Linked DNA regions of Homo sapiens: all the other regions are linked to region 1. Evidence: promoter capture Hi-C in 16 types of primary human blood cells and fetal thymus (Javierre and others, 2016). All regions are on one chromosome and are shown on one strand. Each heading gives the region's core, a stretch centred on a gene start or on the middle of the fragment in contact. The rest is flanking DNA. Distances are from core to core; before and after follow the strand shown. Region 1 holds the start of PON3 (paraoxonase 3). Region 2 overlaps COL1A2 (collagen type I alpha 2 chain). Region 3 has its middle 50 kb from the start of COL1A2. Region 4 has its middle 40 kb from the start of CASD1.

What was found. Contacts are between HindIII fragments. The CHiCAGO score rates a contact against its expected background, and 5 or more counts as called.
Region 2: a fragment that was not itself captured here is called in contact with the fragment with the promoter of PON3 in region 1 in 1 of 17 cell types (total CD4 T cells); the score reaches 5.3 in total CD4 T cells.
Region 3: a fragment that was not itself captured here is called in contact with the fragment with the promoter of PON3 in region 1 in 4 of 17 cell types (total CD8 T cells, total B cells, M1 macrophages and 1 more); the score reaches 5.9 in total CD8 T cells.
Region 4: a contact is called between a fragment that was not itself captured here and the fragment with the promoter of PON3 in region 1, in 1 of 17 cell types (megakaryocytes). The highest score is 5.4, in megakaryocytes.

Annotation. Positions count from the first base shown.
Region 1 is chr7:95,394,035-95,400,884 of GRCh38, reverse strand. It overlaps PON3 (paraoxonase 3), which reads left to right and starts at 4,510. Exons shown (of 9, transcript NM_000940.3): 1 at 4,510-4,608; 2 at 6,171-6,241. The coding sequence starts at 4,535. It overlaps LOC107986822 (a long non-coding RNA gene), which reads right to left and starts at 4,413. Exons shown (of 2, transcript XR_007060439.1): 1 at 3,857-4,413. The HindIII fragment of the contact is 14,130 bases long and covers 1-6,850 here.
Region 2 is chr7:94,423,328-94,427,415 of GRCh38, reverse strand. It overlaps COL1A2 (collagen type I alpha 2 chain), which reads right to left. Exons shown (of 52, transcript NM_000089.4): 41 at 2,973-3,080; 42 at 2,192-2,299; 43 at 1,753-1,806; 44 at 1,559-1,666; 45 at 1,365-1,418; 46 at 886-993; 47 at 355-408; 48 at 121-228. Among named protein-coding and RNA genes, the nearest start is that of COL1A2, 30 kb to the right of the region's middle. The HindIII fragment of the contact is 1,131 bases long and covers 1,689-2,819 here.
Region 3 is chr7:94,441,150-94,447,999 of GRCh38, reverse strand. No RefSeq gene overlaps it. Among named protein-coding and RNA genes, the nearest start is that of COL1A2, 50 kb to the right of the region's middle. The HindIII fragment of the contact is 2,249 bases long and covers 1,611-3,859 here.
Region 4 is chr7:94,466,053-94,472,902 of GRCh38, reverse strand. No RefSeq gene overlaps it. Among named protein-coding and RNA genes, the nearest start is that of CASD1, 40 kb to the left of the region's middle. The HindIII fragment of the contact is 3,609 bases long and covers 986-4,594 here.

The DNA.
Region 1 (6,850 bases), core at 3,261-5,760:
AGACCATTTCTCTAAAAATTGTTTAAAAATGAATTCCCTGTTTTTCTATTCATATTGCTTCTGTTTCTTGGTCCCCATATCCATAAATACAGCCCTCTTTAGCAGATTCTCCAAGCCTAGACACCTTTCATTTCTCCCTCTCCCTCACCACCCCTTTGCTCATATCCAAACAATTGCCAGTCCCTCCACCTAAACATTTCTCAAATCCATACAATTCTAAGAACTTTGAGAAACAATCTCCTCACCTTCTCCAATCACCCTCACATATCTCACCCAGAAAGGCATCTAACTATCTCCTAGCCTCCAGGAAGGGTAAGTGCTCCACCTGCTCCATAATCCACTCTCATCATTGTGTAGCAATGTTTCTAAAACACCTGCCAAAACATGTTACTTCCAGTGGCTTCCCAATGCCCCTTAGAATATAATTCAGGTTTCTTAACTTGGCCTACAATCTGCCTTCCTCTCCAGATTCAATTCTCACCATCTTCTTCCCAAATCTTTAAGCTCAGTGATTCTCAAAGCATGGTCCCTGGGCCAGCAGCATCAGCATCACCTGCAAACTTGTTAGAGATGCAAATTCTCAAGCCCCACCCCAAATCTAACAAATCTCAAACTCTGGGTCTAGGACTCAGCAATCTCTCTTTTAAGGAGCCCTCCAGGTGATTCTTAGGCCTGCTGAAGTTTGAGAACCACTGCTGTATCCATACTGGACTATTTCTGTTCCAATTCCCCTACTTGCGGATACCCCGACCTCTTTCTGTGAACCTCACCACCCTTTCTCCACTTAATTAACTCCTTCTCCTTGTCATACAATCTGACAAGTTCATGTAATATGTTGAATCTACCTTGAGATGTGTTCCAAACTAGAGTCGCTGAGGGGCTACCAGATATTGATGAAAAATCCCCTGAAGACAGTTAAAGTGGAAGATAAATCTGGAAAGAACCTTCCTGGCAAAGTGTGGCCCCTCAAGGATCCCCCCATTCACTTGGTGCTTACATAGTGAAATGTGAGCCTGCTGGAACCCTGGTGCTCATCCTGCTAAATACACTCAGCGCAGATGATTCCTAGCACACCACAGGTTGCACCTGAAGTCCTGAGTGGGGGAACCTTCCCCATGGTGAGTTGCAGGAAGTCACCAAACAAGGTATCAGACTTTCACTACCTGACTTCATTATTAAGTGCATCTTCAGAATGAAATTGAGAATTTTATTTAAATTCAGATATACCTAAATATTTAATACTTAAATAAGTATAAATTTAAAATAATAAATTTTCTAAATAATAGAAGTCATTTCTTAAAATAATACAAATATCTGGTCCTCTAGCATTTCTCTCTTCTGAGCAGCACTAGACTCATTAATGCCATGTAGTCGTACCCAGGTTTTAAACAGTGGTTTCTATGGCTTAGGACAATGTTTCCTAATGTTCTAAAATCCATATCCTCTTTTTAAAAAACAGCTTTATTGCAATATAATCATAATCTCTTTTGATTTGTTGCTCTTTTTCTCTATCGCCACCTCTTTTTCTTGGCAAGATTCACTGATAGAAACAATCTTTTTAAATTAAAAATGTAGCGATTGTAAACATGATCAAGATATAAAGTTTGAAAATTTTAAACATTACAGAGGGTCGTACAGTAAAAGCAAAGTCTCCTTCCATACTCACTGACCTCCCCACTCTCCACGACCCCAATCTTCTGCTCTCAAAGTAACTACTCTTCAGTTTATGTCTAGATTGTTTATATATATATATATATATACACACACACACACACACACACACACATATGTGGATAATATGTAATTCCCCTAATTTTATACCTTAGAATTATACCACATGTATATTCTGCATCCCCCTTAATGGCATTTTGATTATCAATGGTGTGGGACTCCCTAGATCTATATATAGTATTGTGTTACTTACTGTTTAAACGTATAGCATTGAATTTGGTCTACATTAGCTCTTTGAAAGCCCCACTATACATATAAGGAAAGAAGGGTCCAGAGGTGGTGATAAGTGATTTCAAAAGATTAAAGGGCCAACTACAAATGGAATTGGATCTTGAATTTAGGCCTTTTGAATTTATCTGTCCTGCTCTTTCAAAGTCAACAAACCCCTTTTACAATACTGATGTACCTGTGGCCTCTTGACCAAGTCAATTTGGCCTATTGCCAAGAGCAGATTTAGATGGTGACACTCGATACAGTGGCCTCCAAAGTTTGGAATTCTTTAATGCTAATTTACCATGCTGGGGATTTGAATTACTGATTATGGTATTCGAATAAAAACTAACCACTTCTAGGGTTTAAAGTTAATGTATACACACACACACACACACACACACACACATGCACACACACACACAGAGACTCCTCTGCCTAAAGTGAAGAATTTTTAAACAAATTATAGCTAACACAGAACTTCAATCAATTGCCCAAGAATACGCTTCTTTCTTTACCCCCTTCTTCATGCTATGCTGCAAACACAGTGATAAGGAACATGAGCTCTAGAGTCACCTGATCTGAGTCCAGATGGAGGCACTGACACTTAGTTATGTAACCTTAAGTGAATTATTACTTTACCTCTCTAAGCCTCAAAGCCTCACTTTCCTTCTTTTTAGTCCCATCAAACTTGCAGCAAGCAATTCACTTTACTTCTTTGTAGGTAAGGTTAATAAGAAGTAATGTGACAAGGCATGCAAACGCTGAGTGAAATAATAATATGACTATTATTATTTCATTATTCATTCCATTTATTTTTTATTCTTCTAATTTTTCTTTCTCCCAAGTCCATATTTTACATCCATCCATCTAATCATATTTATTGAGTCATTATTAAGCACAAAGTTCTATGGATGGCACGGGAAAACCCAGTGATCAATGCGATGGAGTCCTTCCCACAGGAGCCTACAATCTCAAGCAAAGTTCAGAATTAATTAGTGGTTAATCTTTACTGACTTCATAAAACGTATCAAGCACAGTGCAGAGCACTTGACACTCATTATCACATTTAATTTTAAGCTACCTATGAGGTGGACGTTCTTTTACAGAAGAGGAATCTGTAGCTCAATAAAGCTGAGTACTTTATCTAGGCTGGATCCAAACCCAGGCAGCCTGACTCCCAAACCCTGCATGCATGTCTACATCACACCCCAGGCCCCTCAGCTCTGTGAGCCCTCCTGACTTCGATTCCTCCTCTGCTTGCACTCTTTTAACATTAGTCATCTTAACAAGAACTCTAATCTATACAATTCAAGACGTTACACTGTCCTTTTAATACAACCCTTCTTCCATAGATTTTCTAGAGGCAGCATGGTAGAGGCAGCTCAGTTAAGGGCCCAGATTTTGGAGTCTGCTGCTTGACAGCTGCCTGACCTACAGCAAGCCACATAAGCAATCTGTGCTGCAGGTCTCACCTGTAAAATTGGGGTAAGGCTACCCACACTCCAGAGATTGTGTTGATAATTAAATGCGTTAACATAGGTGTCAGCACAGGCAAAGCACACAGTCAGTACTGCATAAGCGGTGGGCTTCATTATTCATCCTGTAATTACGTATTCATACTAGAATCATGTATCCCATAGGTCAGGGACCACCTTTTCTTTCCTTAATACCCCCAGGATTGGCAAATCTTGCTCTCTCAACAAATAGTTTACTCGGTGGAACCTAACAGAACTAATATTTCTTTCTGTCCGTAAATAAAAATAGATCATGCTTGAATGTGCTACTTTGCCCGAACTCCCCAAGTCTTCCCGCATCTTCAGTTCCTCCCCCTCCAACCTGGTGTTCATCAGGAGAGGGGAAAGAGCATTTCTTGCCTGGCAGGAACTCAAGACCTAGAAGAAAGAGGGCCTACCCTGCCAAGGAAATGACCTTCCCCTTCCTCGCCTCTGCTCCTCTTCCCGTTTCCTGTCTTTTCCTTCTTTTCTCCTGGTGTTTCCTTCTCCCGTTAACTATGGGGACAGACGCAGCTATTCACAAGTCCGTCTGGGCAGCACACTCCGAGGTAAGGCACGAAGGTCAGGAGACAGGTTCCCGTGCCCCAAATCCTGGAGAAGATGAGTTAAAGCTCTTCGCTTCGATTGCCTTCGCCCTTCCCGCGTCTCGGGAGCAATTCAGTGTCGCCTCACGTCTGGCCTTGCAGAAGTCCGGAGTTCCGGCTCTGAACTGGAGCTCCCCGCCATTCCCGGGCCCTCCGGTTTCTCCCTCAGGCCATCTGAGGAATTGAGGTAGGATTTCGCGGGTGTTAGGAGCAAACTCCCACCACAACTCGGTCCCGGGCTCCCTCTCCGTTGAGCCTTGACCTCTGCCCAAAAAACAAGGAATCGTGGGCGTGAAGGCGGCCTTGAACCCGGGCGGCGGGGCTCGGCGGGACTCGTCAGCGCCCTGCTGCGGCACCCGGGCCGCTCAGGTAAGTAGGAGGCGTGTGCGGGCGGGGCCGAGCGGGCCCCAATCCGTACGCGAGGCAGGAACCGCCCGCCGCGCCCCCGAGAGCTCTCGGCGCCGCGCAGTCGCCGCTGGGCACCCCGAGACCATGGGGAAGCTCGTGGCGCTGGTCCTGCTGGGGGTCGGCCTGTCCTTAGTCGGGGAGATGTTCCTGGCGTTTAGGTGAGTGGCATCTTGACAGGGCGTCTTCGACTCTCTTTCTCTCCTCTTCCAAGTGAGGTCAGGGGCTGCCTGGCGCCCCCTTCCTAGCGGGTAGGAAAGAGCAGCTTTGGAACCTCACTCCTCCATCTCACCCAGCAAACCGCCCCTTGAGACTCGCTTATGGGGAAAGTGAGCTACTTGCGTTTCCAAAGACTGCCGAGCCGAATTAGTCCCATTTATTTTTTGAAGGTTATGATCCCCCACTTTGCTTTCTGAAGGTCATGACCCCCTTTTACTTTCTGAACGTGATGACCCCTTTCCCAGCTCGCCCTCAACATTCTGCTTGGGAAAAAAGGACGTCCATTGGAAACGCCGGACTTGGGAGAGAGGATCAGGCTACCAGTTGGATGTTTACGGCTGACTGAGACATTGCCCAGGTCTGGCTAACCATGCAGAAGTACTGGGTTATGGAACCTATCCTAGATTTAAAGAGCTGGCCAGACAGCAGGGCAAACCAGCTGAAACCTGCAGGCGGTAACTGGCATTTTGTAGGCATTTGACCTTTTGAAGTGGAAGATACAATGGTGATAGCCAGCCTAGAAATGTCTCAGGAAAAGTCAATACTGGGCTAGAAAGAAGAACCTTTAAGTGATAATACACATTCATGAGTGGATCGAAAGCCTCTGCTTGCTTTCAGTTGTCTTTGAGTGTTTATGTATTTCTCTTAGTTGAAGCTGGTCTTCTTAGAGGATCACGTCTAGAATCTGTTGAGGTGCCTGGTGCCTATTAGTAATACTTCCAGTTTGAGAGTTTTATTGTTACATTTGCTCCCAGTGCAACCACATGGAGAATCATAAAATAATAGTAATAATAATAAAGTAGATCTAAGGGTATTTTTTTAAATAAATGACTGTAAGATAAGTATTGAGTCTTTCTGAATATACTTTAATAAAAATTTTAAATTATCCCTGATATTAGAAGAATGTGGAAACATTCCTTTTCACTCTGGAAACAAGAAAATTGTGTTGAAAAATAAATCGGCCAATTGTTTAAATTGTGGTTGGTTTAATGAATTTACATACTTGCGGAGTAAGTCAGCATAAAATTTAAAAATTAAAGCAAAAGTGATAGAGTTTGACTATTAGGAGACCCTGTTGAATTTTGGGAAAGCAGTTTGGAAGGAAAAGTTCAAAGGGCAAGACTGTAGGGGATTAAGTGCAGATTTATAACAGACGATACTTTAGAAAATTAGGGCTATTTCGTGCATTTAAATTAATAATATTGTTCAATTACTCATACTATTAAATAGTGTCTTTTATTTGGGCAGCAGAATTTTCCATGTTGAATCATATTATACAGTTTTTCAGCAATAACTGGGTAAGGTTAGCTGATATAGGTAAAATACCCACATAATGTCTACATTATGTAAATAAACATGAAAGGAAGTACCTACTTACTTGTTATGTCATTCATAAATTATGATAAAGATAGTTAACCAACACGAAGATGATTGAAGTCCACATTTAAACATACATTTTGAATGCTGTGCCTTGACTTCCAGGGTTGGGTTTTATCTTCTACAGAGAAAGGGTGAATGCCTCTCGAGAAGTGGAGCCAGTAGAACCTGAAAACTGCCACCTTATTGAGGAACTTGGTATGTATGTGACAGTACCAAGAGGAGCCAGCACAGCTTCTTGGTCGTCATCCACCTGACTGAGCCCTACCAGCTCATTTAATTACCTGTCACTACTTAAGCCCTCCCAGTGGGACATCTGCCCCGTCCACTCTGCCCCATGCAAGGTCTTCAGGGGTGTACTAAATGACATTCTTTGTGGGTTTTTCTCAGCACATTTCCTTACTGACATCTCTCCACATTACCTAAAGAATGTCATTGACCACTCCCTGGTTTTCCCCTCACTGAATGCTTCTCCTTTCCCATCTGTGGTATTTCACTCTCCTCCTTGTCCTCTGTTACCTTTCCTTTTTTTGCTTCTTTCTTCTTTCCTTCCTCCCTCCCTTTCCTTATTGTCATTCCTGGCTTCAAGTGTTATTTTTTTTCAAATAATATGACTCAGCCCCTCCCCTCAAGAACCTCACAGCAGGCTGGGCGCAGTGGCTCACACCTGTAATCCCAGCACTTGGGAGGCCGAGGGGGGCGGATCATGAGGTCAGGAGATCGAGACCATCCTGGCCAACATGGTGAAACCCCATCTCTACTAAAAATATAACAATTAGCCGGGCATGTTGGCGGCGTGTGCCTGTA
Region 2 (4,088 bases), core at 1,005-3,504, 970 kb after region 1:
TAGAGGATATATTGAAATGGGGCTAACTTTAATGGGTTGTCAAAGTTGTCTTGGTTTAGTCTGAAGAAAACATTCCTTAGGTCCGTGATCTTCTTTATTATTTCCCCAAATCATACTTACAGCAGGGCCTTGGTGACCCTGAGGGCCTCGAATGCCAGCAGGTCCAACTGTACCAGGATGTCCAGTGCGACCATCTTTTCCAGCAGGGCCAGAAGGACCAGCAGGGCCCTAAGGAAGACAGACACCAGGTACATGTGAGCTGGTGAATCCCACCAAGGGAGCAGCAGCCTGGGGCTCACTGCTCGCTTTAGCCTCTATTTCAGAGATGAACTGTCTTCTCTTGAGTCCACCTACCCTAGGACCAGCAGGACCCACGGAGCCAGGAGCACCTTGATCACCATGGTGACCCTTTAAAGACAGAAGAGGAAAATCACACTTTCAGAGCACATGTCAAGAGACATATTTTTTTTTTTTTTCCAAATTGAATGGGAAACTTTAGTTAAATGGACTCCGGATTGAGAAAATTGAAAATGTAAAGTGGGGCTCTTTTCTCCCATTATGTCTATTATATTCAATTTTTTTTTCACAACCTATTTCAGCAGTGCAATATTAGTCATTCCTCTAATTATGTTTATTTTAAGTGGGGTTGAAGGACATTGTTACCAGGAGATTTTATTGTATGTCTATTTCTATCTCCCTTAATCCTCACCTTTCATGTTGGTATGAAATAGCATTACCTCCAAGAGTGAGATGGAGTTAGCCAGAGAATGGGAAATGGATATTATATAGGCTATACTGGAACAATAGCAGTGAAAATATGAAAATCCTTCTGAGCTGAAGGCCTTCAGGATCAGTTTATGTGCGAGATGGCTACAGTTTACTTACAGCGATACCAGGCAGACCTTGCAATCCATTGTGTCCCTTTAAGCCAGGAAGACCTCTGGGCCCCTTTTCACCGGGCTCTCCCTTATCGCCACGAATGCCTTGTGGGCCCTATAAAGAAACAGAAGGATGGATAAGACTTACCGTTTTAAAAAAATGGCACTCACTTCACCACAAATACTGCTTAATTCGTTTACAAAGGTAACTCAGGACATGTAATGGTTTAGCTAGGCTCTCACCTCTGCTGGTAATCTGCTTTAGTTGTGCTATCTGTAAAGTGGCTAGATCCTTGTAATTGTTTAATACAAACAAGCATAAGAGATTTAAAATAGCTCAAGTTATTTGTATCAATTCTCAGCATGGACTGAAATTTTTAAAAAATATTAAGTCTAGCTGATATATTGTTTATTTTCTTAACAGATGTTTTGGACTGATTCTCTCTAAATGTTAGTGTTGCAAAGAAATCTTCAGCATGTACATACACTAGGACCTCTTGGGCCAACAGCACCAGCAGGACCAACAGGACCAGAAGGACCCTGTGAAATGAAAAAGAAAAACACAACTTAGCTAGGCCCAAGATACCCCTCCCCACTCCTCCACCATCCCCAAGTGTGGGGAAGTCAGAAGTGAAGCCCACGAGAATGCTGCACTGAGGGACTGGTATTCACAAACTTACAGTTTCACCACGGTTTCCATGTTTGCCAGCAGGACCCACGGGGCCATGAGGACCAGGTGCACCTGCAGCACCAACGGGACCAATATTGCCAGGGTAACCGCGCTCTCCCTACCAAAGGCAAAATGAAGCTTAGCATCAATCTGGGTTGCATTTTAATCACTTTTGAATTAGAGAAAGATGAAAAGTGTACTGACCTTGTGTCCGGGTTGACCATCGCGACCTGGGGGACCATCGTTCCCAGGGTTGCCCTGTGAAGACACCACACAAATTAAGGCTGTTGGTGAGGCTCTGCTGCCTACCAGCCCCTATGTTGTAGCTACTCTGTCTTCATCACTTCCAGTGCTCAGTAACGAACCCTCTTTCAGACTGTTAAAACTAGGGATAAAAACCTGCCAACCTAGATATTTTTTAGAGATGTTTTAAATACTTGGGCCCAGTTTTGCAGTGTGCTATTGAAAAGCCCATTCTTTGGCCTAAGCAATTTTCATATTTTCAGTACTAGGTGTAGATACTATGGAGAAGCTGACCATCTTGTTCAGAAATTTGGAAGAAGAGAACCTCAGCTCAGGACATAAAGTTTCACACAATGAAATCCTGCTCAGTTTTATTTTACAAACCAAGTGTTGGACTCACATCACGACCAGCTTCACCAGGAGCACCGTTGACTCCAGGACTACCCACAGCACCAGGAGGACCACGGGCCCCAGGAGGGCCGGCAATGCCAAGAGGACCAGGTTCACCCTAAACAGGCAGAGAAGATAAAATGACATTCCCCTTATTCGATGGAATGCTAACCTTCCCCTCCAAAACAACCCTACTCAGGAGATTCTAGTTTGAAGGAAGAAGGTAAATTGAATGTGAATGGGTCACACAATGGTAAGAAGTATCATTAGTATCATCTCTGCCCTCCTTCTCCACATGTAGATGGCCAGCTTTATGTAATCACGGGATGTTGCTCTGTAAAAAGTGAGCCTCGTGTCATTCAGTATCCCAAATGAAATGAATTCAAAAAGTTGATATATTTTATGGAGATGAGATGGTTTCTAGTTGTTGTCACGTATAAGGTTTAATGGAACGATTCAGAACTTCCAGAGTTTCATTCTTCCTACAGGATAAATGATGCCAGCATTTCATATTGCAGAGGAGTAAACGCAATTAGAGATTGTATCATTCCTAAGTGCGTGGAAAGAACAAAAATCATTCTGCATAATTTTAAGCTGTGTCTTTATAGTGTGTGTCTAAGTAAGGTGGTATTAAAGCTTCTTAGATAAGTGACATGTGATCTGTATAAAGAAAATGCCATGAATAAAAATCTTAAGTGAAGTTATTCAGTGATCAATCTGTCACATTTGAAGTGGCAGCTTTTAAAATCTTTTCTTATGTTAATGGAGTCAGAATACTGTCAAGCACTCACCACAGCACCAGCAACACCTGGTAGACCACGTTCACCTCTCGAGCCAGGGAGACCCAGAATACCAGGAGCACCAAGAAGACCCTGAGGACCTGGAGTGCCAGGAGGTCCCTAAATAGAGAAAAAATACTGAGTATTATGGGTAAGACCCTAGGTGATAACACAGGTTGGCTTGAAGATTGTGAGAATAAACTGTCTTCAGCTTAGAAAAAGGCTAATGACCTCCTATTACTAGGACATATCCTTGGATATCTTTTCTCTAGTGATGACGGTGAGTTTACATCTTGGCATGAATACTTTTGTATCTGATTCATCCTTGAGACCAATGGCACAACATTTAAAAATATGTGGTTGAGATTTATAAAGACACTTGGGGTGGTGAAATAGAGTTTTTATAGCCTCTAGGCAGGGAAACAAATAAAAAAATTTAAATTGTTATGGATACATAATAGTTGTACATAGTAGGAGGGGTTCCTCAAAAAACTAAAAATAGAACTACCATAAGATCCAGCAATCACACTGCTGGGTATATACACAAAGGAAAGGAAATCAGGCTGGGTGGGGTGGCTCACATGTGTAATCCCAGCACTTTAGGAGGTCAAGGTGGGTGGATCACCTGAGGTCAGGAGATCGAGACCAGCCTGACCAATATGGTGAAACCCCGTCTTTACTAAAAATACAAAAATTAGCTAGGCATGATGGTGTGTGCCTGTAGTCCCAGCTACTCGGGAGGCTGAGACAAGATAATTACTTAAACTGGGGAGGCGGAAGTCGCAGTGAGCTGAGATCGTGCCACTGCACTCCAGCCTGGGCAACAGAGGGGAACTCCATCCCAAAACAAAAAAACAAAAACAAAAACAAAAAACAAAAACAAAAAGGAAATCAGTAAAATCAGTATATCAAAAGGAAGCAAATTTTGACTTTGGCCTCTAAGGTCTAATAGGGGCACCTTTCAGAGTAGCACTAATACTGGACAGTGTATGTTTAAGAAATTGGTAGCCTACTGAGATTGATTAATATGTAGTAGGATGGCCACAGCAATGGGACTCTGTTCTAATCCTGGTACCAGTAAGGTGCCTTCAATAGCTTTAAGGGCTTTGTGATAAAACTGAGTTCCCT
Region 3 (6,850 bases), core at 1,486-3,985, 950 kb after region 1:
TATTATATCCAATGTTATCAAAAGTACTTCATGTTATAAAACTATTCTGCTGCTTAAAATTATTTCTTAAGAAGATATATAATAACATGGAAAAATGCTCATATAAAATTTAAATTAAAAATAGAATTTAATAATAAAATGGTTTTTTCTATATCTGTCCAGAAGTATATATTCCAAAGTTTAAATAGTGATTATCTGTATTACTTGAGTTATTGGTGATAATTGGCTTCATTCATTTCTGTATTTTTTAAACTTTTTGTAAAAAAAATTGCAAGTATACAAACTGCTTATTAAATTTTCTTTAAAATCGGGGTATAAAATAATACATATAGTTTGATTAATATTTTAGTAAAAATGAAAGTGTGTGTATATATAATTACATATATTTAAAATTCATATGTGTATTAAAACATATTTTAGAATTTTAATAGTGATTATATGCATGGTTACTTATATGGTTATGTTTTTATGGTTTAAGTAGTGGTTATAGGTGGCTATAGGTGATTATTTTCTTCATCATTCATTTTGTGATTATTTCACTACAGATAAAAATGTATGTGATATATGTATACATTAAAAATTATCTTTAGAAAGATACTTAGTAATACGAAAAAACATTTATGAAAACTTTAGTTAAAAACACAAAAAAACACAACCTAATATATGCAGCTTGTTCACAATTTGGTAGAAATGGAAGCACATGTCTATTTTATTCGTATGTGTATATGAATAGATTTTAAAAACTTGGAAGGGCATGTTCTAAAGTTTTAATTGTGATTATAGTACTGTGAATATAGTGGATAGTTTTCTTCTTCATTCATTTCTAACTTTTTAACTAGAAATCATAAAGCCTACACATATATATCATACACATCAAATTGTATACATTAAATATGTGCAGTTTATGCCAATTATATCTCAATAAAGCTGATAAAAATGTATAATGCTGTTCAATAAAACAAGTTTATTGTTTATAAAAAGAAACATGAATAATTTTAAAACACAAAATATTCACTTTTTACTAGCTCAGTGCCCATTTGTACGGTTGGTTCAAAAGTAATTGCGGTTTTTGCCATTAATTACTTTTAATACAATACCCAATACATTTAAAAATATTTGTTCGCTAGCATTTGGCACAGTTATGAAATAGCATTTTAAACAGGTTTTAAAAGTTTGGATCTGCACATTCTTTGCAAGGTTGGTAGGGAGGGGTGAGTGGGGTAGAATATTACTACTTATCAAGATATGTTAGTCCCTAAAAAGAAATGAATATCATGTCCAAGAAGCTGACTACTTTGTGGAAACATTCAGCTATTTATTTTTTCATTACAAGACGGTGATTTCTTATGATTAACAGATTTAAGTAAGCAAGCAAGCAAGCATGATGTGAATTTTCAAAAGAAACCACTAATTTAGATCCTACCGTCTCTCGTTAACATGTCCTGTGCTGAAGTATTAAATTTATTGATTACGTGAACTGTTAAATAGTCCATCTGCAATGCAAATGTAACTTTAAAATTAAAAATCTGACATCAATTCATTTTTCTCAAGAGACTTCAGAACTAAATTAAACACTTGATATGAGGCAGCCAGCCTTTTCTGATAAAGCTTTCAAATATCCGGCATGTTAAAAGTGTGCTGCTAGGTATGTGAAAGATGGCACTAGGCAAAGAATGACAGTCTCAATCATTTTTTAATAAAGGAAAATACACAGCTCTCCTGTGAAGCTGCATACTGCTTGACTGGTGGGCAATACTAATATGTATTCAGAGATATGATGATGTATCTGCTTGTCTTGCTGAGCTGTGCAGAGACGTCTTGCACAGATGCTCCCATGTGATAGCTGGCTGTATAGTTTGGTCTGCCTTCCTTGCAAGGCTCACAGTCTAAAACCCCAGCAGCTAATTTTTAAATACTAATGCATAGCACAGACCTAAGAATGAATAGAAATACTCATCCCTGAGGCATGTCATGAGTTGATTATAATAAAAATTGCTTAATTATTTATTGGTAGTTGCTTTATAAATTACTCTCTGGTTTTGCTGGAGGGCATAAACTGTGAGATGGGAGAAAAGAGTTAGAGAGCTGAAATAGTCAGGGGACACTGTGGTTAAGGGTTTCCCATACTACACAAATGCCTTTGGACTTTATCCTGCAAGTGCTGTGGAAACAGGAATCTTTTAACAGGGAGTTGAAAGGTCAGAGTTGTGTTTTCTCTGTGTAATGGAAGATGGATTTGAGGGGAACGAGAAAAGAGGCAGGTAGTAACTAGTTAAGGTGAAAGGCTGAAGTGAAAAGTTGCAGTACTGCCGAAAAAGAAGGGAGGAAGCCCCAAAAACAAAGGCTAAAGAAGTAAAGCTATAGAAAAACATTTAGGAGGATATGGTAGTTGATTGGATGTGAGAACCAGAGGTAAAGGAGAGGAAAGAATTGTATTTTCTGTTTTGTATAACTGGGTAAATAGTAGTAACCCCTTTAGCTGATACTGAAATCACAGGTGCTAATGCAGATTAGAAGAGGAAACATTAAGTGGCTGATTGACCTACTTTTCCTGATGCATGCATGCAGTCACTCAGCAATTTTATAAGAGCAATTGTATAGACAAACATACAATAAACAATGACAGCAAAATTATAAACAAAGTGCTCCAACTAAATCACAAAGGGCCAGGAAAACATGAGAATCTTTTTATGAAGCTCATATTAGGGACATGGACAAAGATGTAACAATTAGATTATATTAATTGTATTTGTTATGTTGCAATGGGAATGATTTTACTTGCTATAATAATGAGCTCTGTTATAATGGGTATTCTCCTTGATCTCACCTATTCATTCATTAGAATGAGGTTTTATTCTTTTCCTTTCACAGAGTAAATATACAATAAGATCAAATAAATTTTGATGATTGCCAACAGATGGTGAGGGGCTCAACTTGAGGACCATCTGATCTTTGGCTTTTCAGTTCTTTCCGGCTGTTCTTTCTACTTAATTACCTTCCCCTCACTTCCTAATCCCTTCCATGTAATTCTACACCAAGACTGGGTCTAGCACTATTAATTTTCCACAGCCTACGCTGTTTTCTGATAAGATATTCTTTCTTAGCTGGTTGCTAATGGACCTAAACAGTCTGGTTTTAGCAGAACCTTTCAATCCTATTTGAATCATGTCTTTGCTCAATTTATTAATTCAGTTTAATGCAGAGAATTTAAAACTTACTCTTACAATTTAATCTCATTTCAAATCTGACACAATGAATCAACCACCAGTGATTTTACATAATCAAAGAACCATTTCAACTAACCTGTCTTTAAAATCCTTCTATGTGAGACATATATTTTTTTCAATCATTAAAACAGGCTTACTAGAGTGATATATGTGTTTCAGTAACAAATTTCCCTCATTACCTGAATGCATCTCTGCATCTTTTGAGAATGAAGCAGAGAAAATATTGCTGTAATAGATATTTTAACAATATATCACGGAAGCACGAAAGATTAGGAATGTCTAAACACTCAGAAAGGACCTCCTAGGGCAATTTTCTAAAGATTTTTTTATGTATATTTATATAATCCATATCTAGACAGAACCTTTTTTTCCTTGACAGGTGTATTTTAACAACCAGTTCAATATAAGGAGGCTGTCTCCGTGTTCTGTTCAATAGTCCCTAATAACACTGCTTTACCAAGGGAGACGAATAAAATTTTGTTGATTGAAACATACTGCGTCATAATGTGTTCTCATGTTTCCGTAATGTTTAGCAGTAATTTAACAAAGTGCTTGTTCATTTGAATCAGAAATTGTACATCAAAACTATATATTGTTCTACATGTAGCCTGCATTCATAATACAATAAAGCTTAGTTTTAAATATACCATCTATGTTTTGTGAATGCTAGTTAAAAATAATCCTAGTTTCTTCTGATAATGAAAGTAATATATGTTTATGTTTTTTTGAAAAATGCAGACAGATTAAAGAAAAAACCCTGGCAATATGCATCACCTCACTAGAGATAATGGTTATTAATATTTTTACATACATCCTTTCTGAATTTTTATGCATATCTGTAAAAAATAAAAATTTTTAAGCAAACTTGAACTTGTATGTAATGATTTACATGGATAATCACTGCACACATTAACTTAGATGAATTTTACTCTCTCTGTGTGTGAGACAGACAATAATTTAATTAAATTTTTAAAATTTCTCTTCATTTAGCTCATGAATATATGCTTTGGAATAAGCATGAGATGGGGGATAGGAATTTCTTTTTTCTTAGTCAATTCCAGTTTCTGTGTGTCTCACATGGTGTGTGCAACTTGCTACAGTGACTATGATTCTGATGGCAAAAATACATATTTTTCTTATAACATGGTCTATACTCAGGCCAACAACTTTCATGCACAATCACAGAAACAGCCATGTATTCTAATACTAAAAGAAAAACTGTGTGGAAGTTATGGTATTTGGTCTTCAACCTAGAGATTTTCAAGGGTAATGTTGATTATGCAAAACTTTTTCTCCATTATGTGCTGGTTTTAAAACCTAACTTCCTGCATGGGATGCAACTCCCCTGTAATCTATACTTGTTTATTTTAGCAAATAGCTATTAATTTTCTTCTATAAGTATATTTTGAGAACATTTAAAATACTGGATTGCAATCCATCAAATGGATGCACCATATCTACTTAAACCAATCCACTATTATTAGACATTTGGTTAATTTCCAATGTTTTGTTATAAATAAAGCTATGACAACTGTTGCGCTTGAGATATGATATGAGGGTCAGTCATTATATTTGCACATGGACTTAATGCTATTGTAGTGTCTTTCTTTCAGGCAATTTTATCACTCCCATGCTAAGATATAGGAAGAAGGGGGATGTGACTTCCCAATAACCAGCTGGGGGTTGCCTTCACTGGAAGAGAAGGCAATAAAACGGGATTTTAGAAAAATAACCTTTTGGTGTTTTTTGCAGACACCTTTCCATGACACCTGTTCAGAGGGTTGGATTTGCACATAGTCATGTGAACCAGTTCAAAGAGTGTATTTGTGTGGCTTTTTGAGAGCTGCAGTGCTCTAGTTCCTTCTGTCAGCTTTGCGCTGCAAATAGCCATGGCATTTCCCAAAGTTAGAAGACTTCTGTGATTCACGTGCTTGTTCCTCAGACCCACACAGCTCTCCCTCCAAGTTTAGGTTGCCCCAGACAGCTGCATTGGGGGACAGCTACGTGCTGTTCTGATTTGTGCAGTGGAGAGAAAACTTGAGTCTCACAGCTTTATGAGAAGCCTTCATATGGACTCTACTGGGTCAAAGTCTTTAGAAAAATCAAATATTAATTTATTAGCATTCATTCCTTGTCCAAGATATAAACATTTTTAAGGCTTTTGATACATACCGATAAATTTCTCTCTAGAAATTTTGTACCAATTTATACCACATCAACTGTAGATGAGAGTGATCTTTTGTCTAAACTCTTATCAACCTATTATTTTGAAAAGAAACAGCCAGAGATGAAGTGAGCTTTTTAACTTCGTGTTTCTTTAATTTCTAAAGTAACTGGACATTTTTTGTGCATTTTAATGAACTTTTGTTTTTTGTTATTGATGTTCTTTGTCTCCCCCAACCCCTCTTTTTTTCTGTACAAGCATTAAAAAATGATGTCTAAGAACTCTTTCTAAGTCTTTATCTAAAAACAAAATGCTCAAATTGCATGAAGAAGCATATATATATATATATTTTTTTTTTTTTCTTTTCTTTTTTTGAGATAGAGTCTCACTCTGTCACCCTGGCTGAGATGCAGTGGTATGATCACTGCAGCCTCTACCTCCTGGGCTCAAGCAATCCTCCTGCCTTATCCTCTGTAGTAGCTGTGAGTACAGGTGCACACCATCATACCTGGCTAATTTTTAAATTTGTGTAGAGACAGGGTCTCACTATGTTGCCTAGGCTGGTCTCAAGCTCCTGGGCTTAAGTGATCCTTTTGCTTCGGCCTCCCAAAGTGCTGGGATTATAGGTGTGAGCCACCAGGCCTGACCAACATATATATTTTCAAGGAGAAAGGAGTGCTAGGAAGAGTGTGAGATGGGTAGATACAAAGCAGGCATTCAAATACAAAGTATTTGAATTAAATTAAGTTTCTGTTTTATTGAGAAAAGTTATAAAACATTACAACTTTTGTGATGCAGTTTGTAATAGAGATGTTATTTATGGTCTTTCATACCCTTGCCCCCTTTAAAAATTGCCCACGCAGAGCTTCTGATGTCTAGGTGGCTATGTTTTATATCACACGACTCTCATGATGGGATACCTACCCAAATGTCAGCACTTACTAGGCTGTCTAGAGATTTATGAACTATATCAGAATCTCTCTCTTAGAAATCAAATAATAATAATGATGAAAGCCAATTAATAGCAGATATGAAAAAAACATGCAGAATGTGAATGAACCAGATTAGTGGTGAAGCTGTAGAGGAAAGAGTTGAAAAAGTCACAAACTCCTGCTCCTGAGATCTCTGAAGCCATCTTAAATAGAGAGCCAAGCCTGTCATGGTGGTGTGAGCCTGTAGTCCCAGCCACTTGGGAGGCTGAGGCAGGAGGATTGTTTGAGCCCAGGAATTCGAGGCCACAGTGTGCTATGATGGCACCATGAATAGCCACTGTATTTCAGCCTGGGCAACATAGCAAGACCCTGCCTCTAAAAAAATAAATAAATAAAGGAGCAGCCACGTTGCAGCTCCAATTTCAGTAGTCTGTTACCTTTCTTGCTCTTATTTCTCTATGTATGTCCCTGTCACCTGAGCTTCCTTGACTGGATCTCTGTTCGTTTTGCTTAAATAAACCTGAAGA
Region 4 (6,850 bases), core at 1,541-4,040, 930 kb after region 1:
CATGTCTTTTCTATATGCTAAACATTGTGCTATGAATAGAATTATGCTTCGATTGTGAGCAATTCCAGTTTTAAAAAGTTGATTCAAAACACCTAAACAAATATTGTTTCATTATTTCTATTCAGTTTCACTAGACTTGCTACTCTGTGGTTAGTGATTCAGAATGAAAAGTGAATAAAGCAAAGGTCTTGCTTTTTAGGAGATTATAATCCCAGGTAAAGTGGTTGCTCTGGGGGTTAATGTGTATAACTTTTTACTCTTAATTTAGAGTTAATAGGGTACCTAATTTAGAGTAAATAGGGACATTTAGCCTACACAAAATGTGGAAACTTTACTATCATATAGGCTTAATATTCCCCCACCTATCCTTTATGTGATATAATGATATGATCATATATCATGATGTATTGTGCATTATATATAGCACAATTATCATGTATGATTACATCCACATACACTATAAATCCTCAATAAGTTTTATAGTTTTTGACCTAAATACCTAGATATATTTTAAAGAGATTAAGTAGTAGTTTTTTATATTTACCCAGATATTATATTTCCAAGCATCTTCATTCCTTCCTGATGATCTGAGTTTTCAGCTGGTATAATTTCTCTTCAGTTTGAAGAATTTTATTTAGGATTTCAGCAGATTTGCTAGAAGACACATTTTCCTAGTTTTCTTTTATTTGAAAATTGTATTATAGTATTTCACTTTCAGTCCAATAGGATATATTTGCTGCATATGAAATTCTGAGTTGACACTTTTTTTCCAGAACTTTGAAGATATTTGTTTATGGAATTATGGCCTACACAGTGTCAGATGCAAAATCTGGGATGATTTGAACCTTATGTAATTATGTTATTCTTTTTCTGGCTTCTTTCAAGAGTTCTCTTTTTCTCTGGTTTTCAGCAGTTAAGACTACGATGTATTTACACATAGCTTCTTCATTTATCATGTTTGAGGGTCACCGAGCTTTTTCAAGCTTTATATTTATGCCTTTTACCCAATTTTGGAAAAATTTGGCTAATTTTTCAAATTTTTTTTGCCACATTCTTTCCTGTCATTCTGTGATTCCAATTATACATATGTTATGTCTTTTGATATTGTCTTAGAGTTCTCTGAGACTCTGCTCATTTTCTTCCAATCTTTTTAATTTTTTTGTCTATTCTTCAGATTGGACTATTTCTATTGTATTATCAAGTTCACTGACTAGTTGCTCTGTCATCTCTATTTTGCTGCTAAACCTATATAATGATTCTTTTTACAATTTCAGACATTTTATTTTTTAGTTTTAGAATTCGTTAGCTTATTTTAATAAATATTTCAAAATATTTCATATTTTATTTATCTTTACTGAGATTTCCTATTATTTTATTTATTGCTAACATATTTTTCCTTATTTCACTGACCATAGTTATAACAGCTACTTTAAAATCTTTGCCTACTAATTCCAACTTCTGTATCATCCAGGGTTGGTGTATATATTTACCAACATTAGTATAACAATATTCTATCTTTTCTGTCGAGAAAAGTAATACTTCCTGTTTTAAAAATATATTCAGTAATTTCTATACCCTGGGCACTGTCAGGGTTATATTGTGCATTCTTTTATAGTCTTCCAAAAGTTCTGATTTTTTTTTCAGATATTAAACTCGGGTGGACTCAAGCATCAAACGCTGTCTCTTGTGTGGCAGCTAAAATCACAGTTAATTGTTAAGAATCTTTATCTCGATTTTGTCTGGCAAGTGCATCATTTAGGAGTCAGCTAAAGTTAAAAAAACGTATATTGAGATATAATTTATAATTTTACATAGCATAAATTAACCAAATATAAGTGTACAATGTGATAAATTTTGGTAAATTTGTGTATTTGTGTAAAATTACCTCAATTCTGTTTTAGAACATTTCCATCACCCCCTAAAATTTATTTGTGCCCATTTGTTGTTAATTTCCACTCCCACCCATAGCCCTAGGCAACTGTGGATCTACTTCTGTGTGTATAAGTTTACCTTTTCTAGAAATTTTCTGTTAATAGAATGGTACACTATATAGCCATTTGTGTCGGTCTTCTTTCACTTAACATTTTTTTGAGGTTCATCTATGTTGTTGAATACATGAGCAGTCTACTCTTTTTCGTTGCTGAATAGTATTTTATTGTGTGCCTATACCTCATGTGTTCATCCATTCATCAGCTGATGGGCATTTGGATTACTACCAGTTTTGGGCTATTTTGAATAATGCTGTTATTAACATTTGCGTACATGTCTTTATGTAGATGTATGTTTTTATTATTTGCCTTATCTGCTTTTAAATCCAAGTATTAGATTCTTATTTCAGTTATCTTTTCAACTTCTACAATTTCCACTTTATTTTATTTAGTAGATTCCTTGTTTCTTATGAATTCTCCATTCTTTTCTCAATTTTCATGAACATATTAAACATTATTATTAGTTTATTATTGTTTGTAGAAACAAAGTCTCACTATGTTGCCCAGGCCAGTCTCAAACTCCTGGGCTCAAGCAATCCTTTTGCCTCAGTCTCCCAAAGCACTGGGATTACAGGCATGAGCCGCAACACCTGGCCATAATGTTATTTTGAGGTCTCTAATGATAGCTCCACTATTTGGGTCATCTTTACTTCCATTTCATTGTCAAATCTTTCCTAGTTTTTTGTTATATGTTCCAATTTCTTATCTTGCCTAACAATATTTGATGGAATACTAGAGATTCTGTATGAAAAATTATACAGGCCTTAGATGACGATATCTTTCCCCAAAGATAATTTAATTTCATTTTGGCAAGTAGATAGAGATATAACAGGTCACTTTTATCTAGTCAAGAGTGGATTCCAAGAGTGGATTCTATACTGTGATGGAACTGGTCTAGTTTTAATTTGCCTTTATTCCTTATTTTTTACTTCTAAGGTATAACCTTTTTATGGTCTCATGTGAAATCATGGGGGTGTTTCCTGGGTCCCCTCTACTTTTGTGAGCCCTGAATTATAATCTATATGCCCTTGGTACTACCATACTGCTAAAATCTTTGCTTAGCTCTTTGGCATACTGGTACTTTCTGCTAGATGTTTAGGAGTCTTGCTTTGTGTATATGCAGTTTTGGGGATGGCCACCCCTTGCAAGGAAATTGCATGCAGAATTTCACGCTTACTTTTATGTGTTTTCTTCCCCAAATTTTAACTCTATTACATGCCCTCACCCCCAAACTCTGTTTCTTCAGCCCAGTGAGAGTGTCGTAAGCCAGGTTTGTCTTTCTTTTTAATCTCTGTTTCTCTCAGATGCAAATTTGCAGATGTCTTGAAGGGAAATACAGGGCAGAATCTCACTTCAGTGTGTTTTCCTTCTCTCCCGGACTGCTGCTTCTCAAGTCCTGTCTGCTGGAAGTGCTCTTGAATGTTGTCAAACTATTGTTTCATGCATTTTATAGTTAACTTGGGCAAGAACTGCTCTGATATGAGCATTTCTGAAATAGCTGCAAGCAGAGTTTTCCCAATTATTTGGAAAAACATACAAGAAAATCCCTACTTTTTGCTGCAATATACTTCTGTAATATAATTCCGTCAAAGCAGTGAGTAATTTTTTTAATCAGATGCTTCTATGGTGCTTCAATTTAGAGTTTCATTTGTGACCAGAAGGCTTGACATCAAATAAATCCCAAGTTATAAATCAACTATAAAATTTACACAAGAATATAATAATTTAAAATTGTAAATGCAGGCTAGATTTCTTTGTGCAGCATAGAAAGGACCTCAACATATGTGATGTGTAATGTATTAAAGAAAAAATTTTATTGTACTAATATTGTGCTCCATTGTTAATATATCAGCTACTATTGGCATTTAGTTTATTATATTTTTATCTTAGAATGTAAAAAAAAATTAAGGAATGACAATTTGAGTGGCCCAGTTCTTTTTAAAAGGTCTCTAATACAGTTAAATTACTTGCTACATTTTATCTAAATAAGACCTTTATTGAGAATTGAATTATTTTATTAATCTTACTTCTAACCAAAAATATTATAGCACATAAAATATTTATTGATATTGCTGTTGATGACTATCAAGATGCTGCTTCTGCTAAACATTATTTTAAAAGTAATGATTGGCTGGGCACAGTGGCTCACATCTGTAGTCCCAGGATTTTGGGAGGCCGAGACAGGTGGATTGCTCTAGCTCAGGAGTTTGAGACCAGCCTGGACAACAAGGTGAAACCTCATGTCTACCAGAAATACAAAAAATTAGCCAGTGTGTGCCTGTGATTCCAGCTATTCAGGAGGATGAGGTGGGAGGATCACTTGAGCCAGGGAGGCAGAGGTTGCAGTGAGCTGAGATCACACCGCTATACTCAATCCTGGGTGACAGAGTGAGACCCTGTCACAACAAAAGTAAAAATTGACTAATTATTTTTCTCTTTCTTACCCTTGTCTAAGGTTTTGCAAACTGTAAGTATAGCTATTACATATCAGAACAGGAAATAATTTTTGCCTATTCACTATCATTGATACTTTGACAATTATCAAGAGGCTTAACATTTTATTATAATCTGCATGAAAAATGAACATTTCCTTTAAGAAAGAAGCTTCGGCTTGACTTATAGAATTGCAGAAGTAGCTATGAAAATGTAAAGATTATATAAAAATGTTGTTTGTAAGGGAAAATTTAAGACTTTGGAATGCACAAATGAGATTACTGTATATAAATTCAATGCAATGCTAGAGCCTTTGGGGGTTATTGAACATGTAGGGATATGCGATTTTGTCTTTAGCTAAGCTATTTTACTACTCTGTATACGGTAAAGTTAACTTGAAACAGGTAGCAATGCAAATAATTCTTGCCTATAGACATGCAAATAAATTCTATCTATGAGGGGAAACACCTTTTCTCCTGTGGAAAACTCAGTTTTGCAAATTCATTTCAATATTTCAGATTCATAAATTTGTCTTCTATGAGGTCTCTTTTGAACCCATTGCAATAGGTCTCTCGATCAATTAAAGAGTTAAATAACATCTTTGACATGTGTTAATCATATATTTGTATGAGAGTCAAGTTTTTACTTTTTTGAAAATGACTATAATTCATACCATATATACATTCAGATGAGGATGGAATTTAGGTTGATAGAACAGGTGAAATGATGATCCGTGAAAGTGGGAAAGACAAGAGTCTGCTTCCTTCTCTGGGCTTAAAATATAGATTCACTCAACACAGGAAACAGGTCCACAAAATCACAGAGATTGCTCCAGATTTTCTTGTTGTTTGTTTTAGTAGTGCTTATACAAAGTCTATTTTTGCATTAAAACTGTTGCATACACTGCAATCATTTTTAACACTATTCCTTATTTTACTCTTTATTTCAAAGTTTATAGATTGATATAGTGACTAAAACTGTCCACATTTCTGATAATGAATATCAATAAAGAGGGAGTGGAATAGCTAGAAGCACAAACAATTATATATTTGCAAATCATTCAGATGCAGGACAGTTTCCTAGGCCACTTACAAAATAAAATTAGGTGCAATTCTGTACCCCTTCCCCTGTGGAGAAAATGCAGAGTGATTTTCCCATCACTGCTACTGCACTAGATACCCAGGATTTTATCTCTCTTATCTTGGGCTTGAAGGAGTTTCTGAAGTGTCATAATTAGAATGGGGGTTTCTCCATAGGGTATTCAGACAGGACTTGGTAAAATCATATAACCCAGGAGGCATCATCCCTGCCCAAAATCAATAGATGAAGCACTGCATTCTAATTAAGTCCTTCTTGTTGTTAATGAGAGGTTCAACTGGGATAGTGACATTCTCATACAAGTGAAGACTCCTGCTTACTCATCTTCCATTTAATACCTGGGCACTGTGTAGTGTTCTTGGCAGTAGCCCTTAATTAGGTCCATCCATTTGTTTCTTTCCAGGCAGCAGGCCCTCTTCTACCTTGTTTGGGCTCATGAGCTCCAGGGGCTCCTTCTGGTACCCTCTTTCCTTTATTCACCTCTTCTTAGCTACCTTTTAGCTAAGCATGGGAGAGGTGAGGAAAATCCATTCCTCTCTATTCAGATTTCCAACACAGGCACTGCCTCTTTCCTCAAATTCAGTTCTCCTGTTCTTTTCACAATAAACCTTGATGGCTCATTACCCATAGAGGCTGAATCATTAACAATCAAAATATTAGTTCTTTTTCTTAATATCTGAACCCTGCCTCGAGGCAAGGGAAAATATTTGCATTCCATCATTCTCTGCATGAAGGAAAGGAAGTAAAAATGAAATAGTTTTAGTTTGCATATTTTAATAGCCACAAAATTGGTGTCCTGCCACAGAAAAAAGTGTTTGGGAAGTTTTAGGAGGTAGAAAACAAATATTGGAGCTAAAAAGCTGTCCTCATTACTTGATTTTCTTAGGTTTGAAATACAGAAGAAATGCTAAACTGGCCTAGAATCTCTTACCCAAACCACTTGAAGTCTGATGTATATTTTAGAGTTCAAAAATTTTTGTATTTTAGAATAGTAACATAAATTCATATCACAGATGTGGATTTATTATGCAACTTCTTCCACAGGCACCTGGGGCAGCACTGCTTGCTTAAACACATTTTTTTTTTGTCACAAACATGAATATCCACACTGTATAGAATAAATAAAGGCTTTATATGACATCTTGTGAATTAAGATCAACTGTAGCTACTAAATAATTTCAGATTAGGTTATATTTTGCTGTCAAATGAGTTAAAAATTTCTTGAAACTTCAAGAGTTTTCTGGATTTTGGAATTTTGGATAAGTTATTTGGGCATATAGTTCATCAGCTTTAATAAGTCATTAATTATAGAATGCACTACCATATAAAGA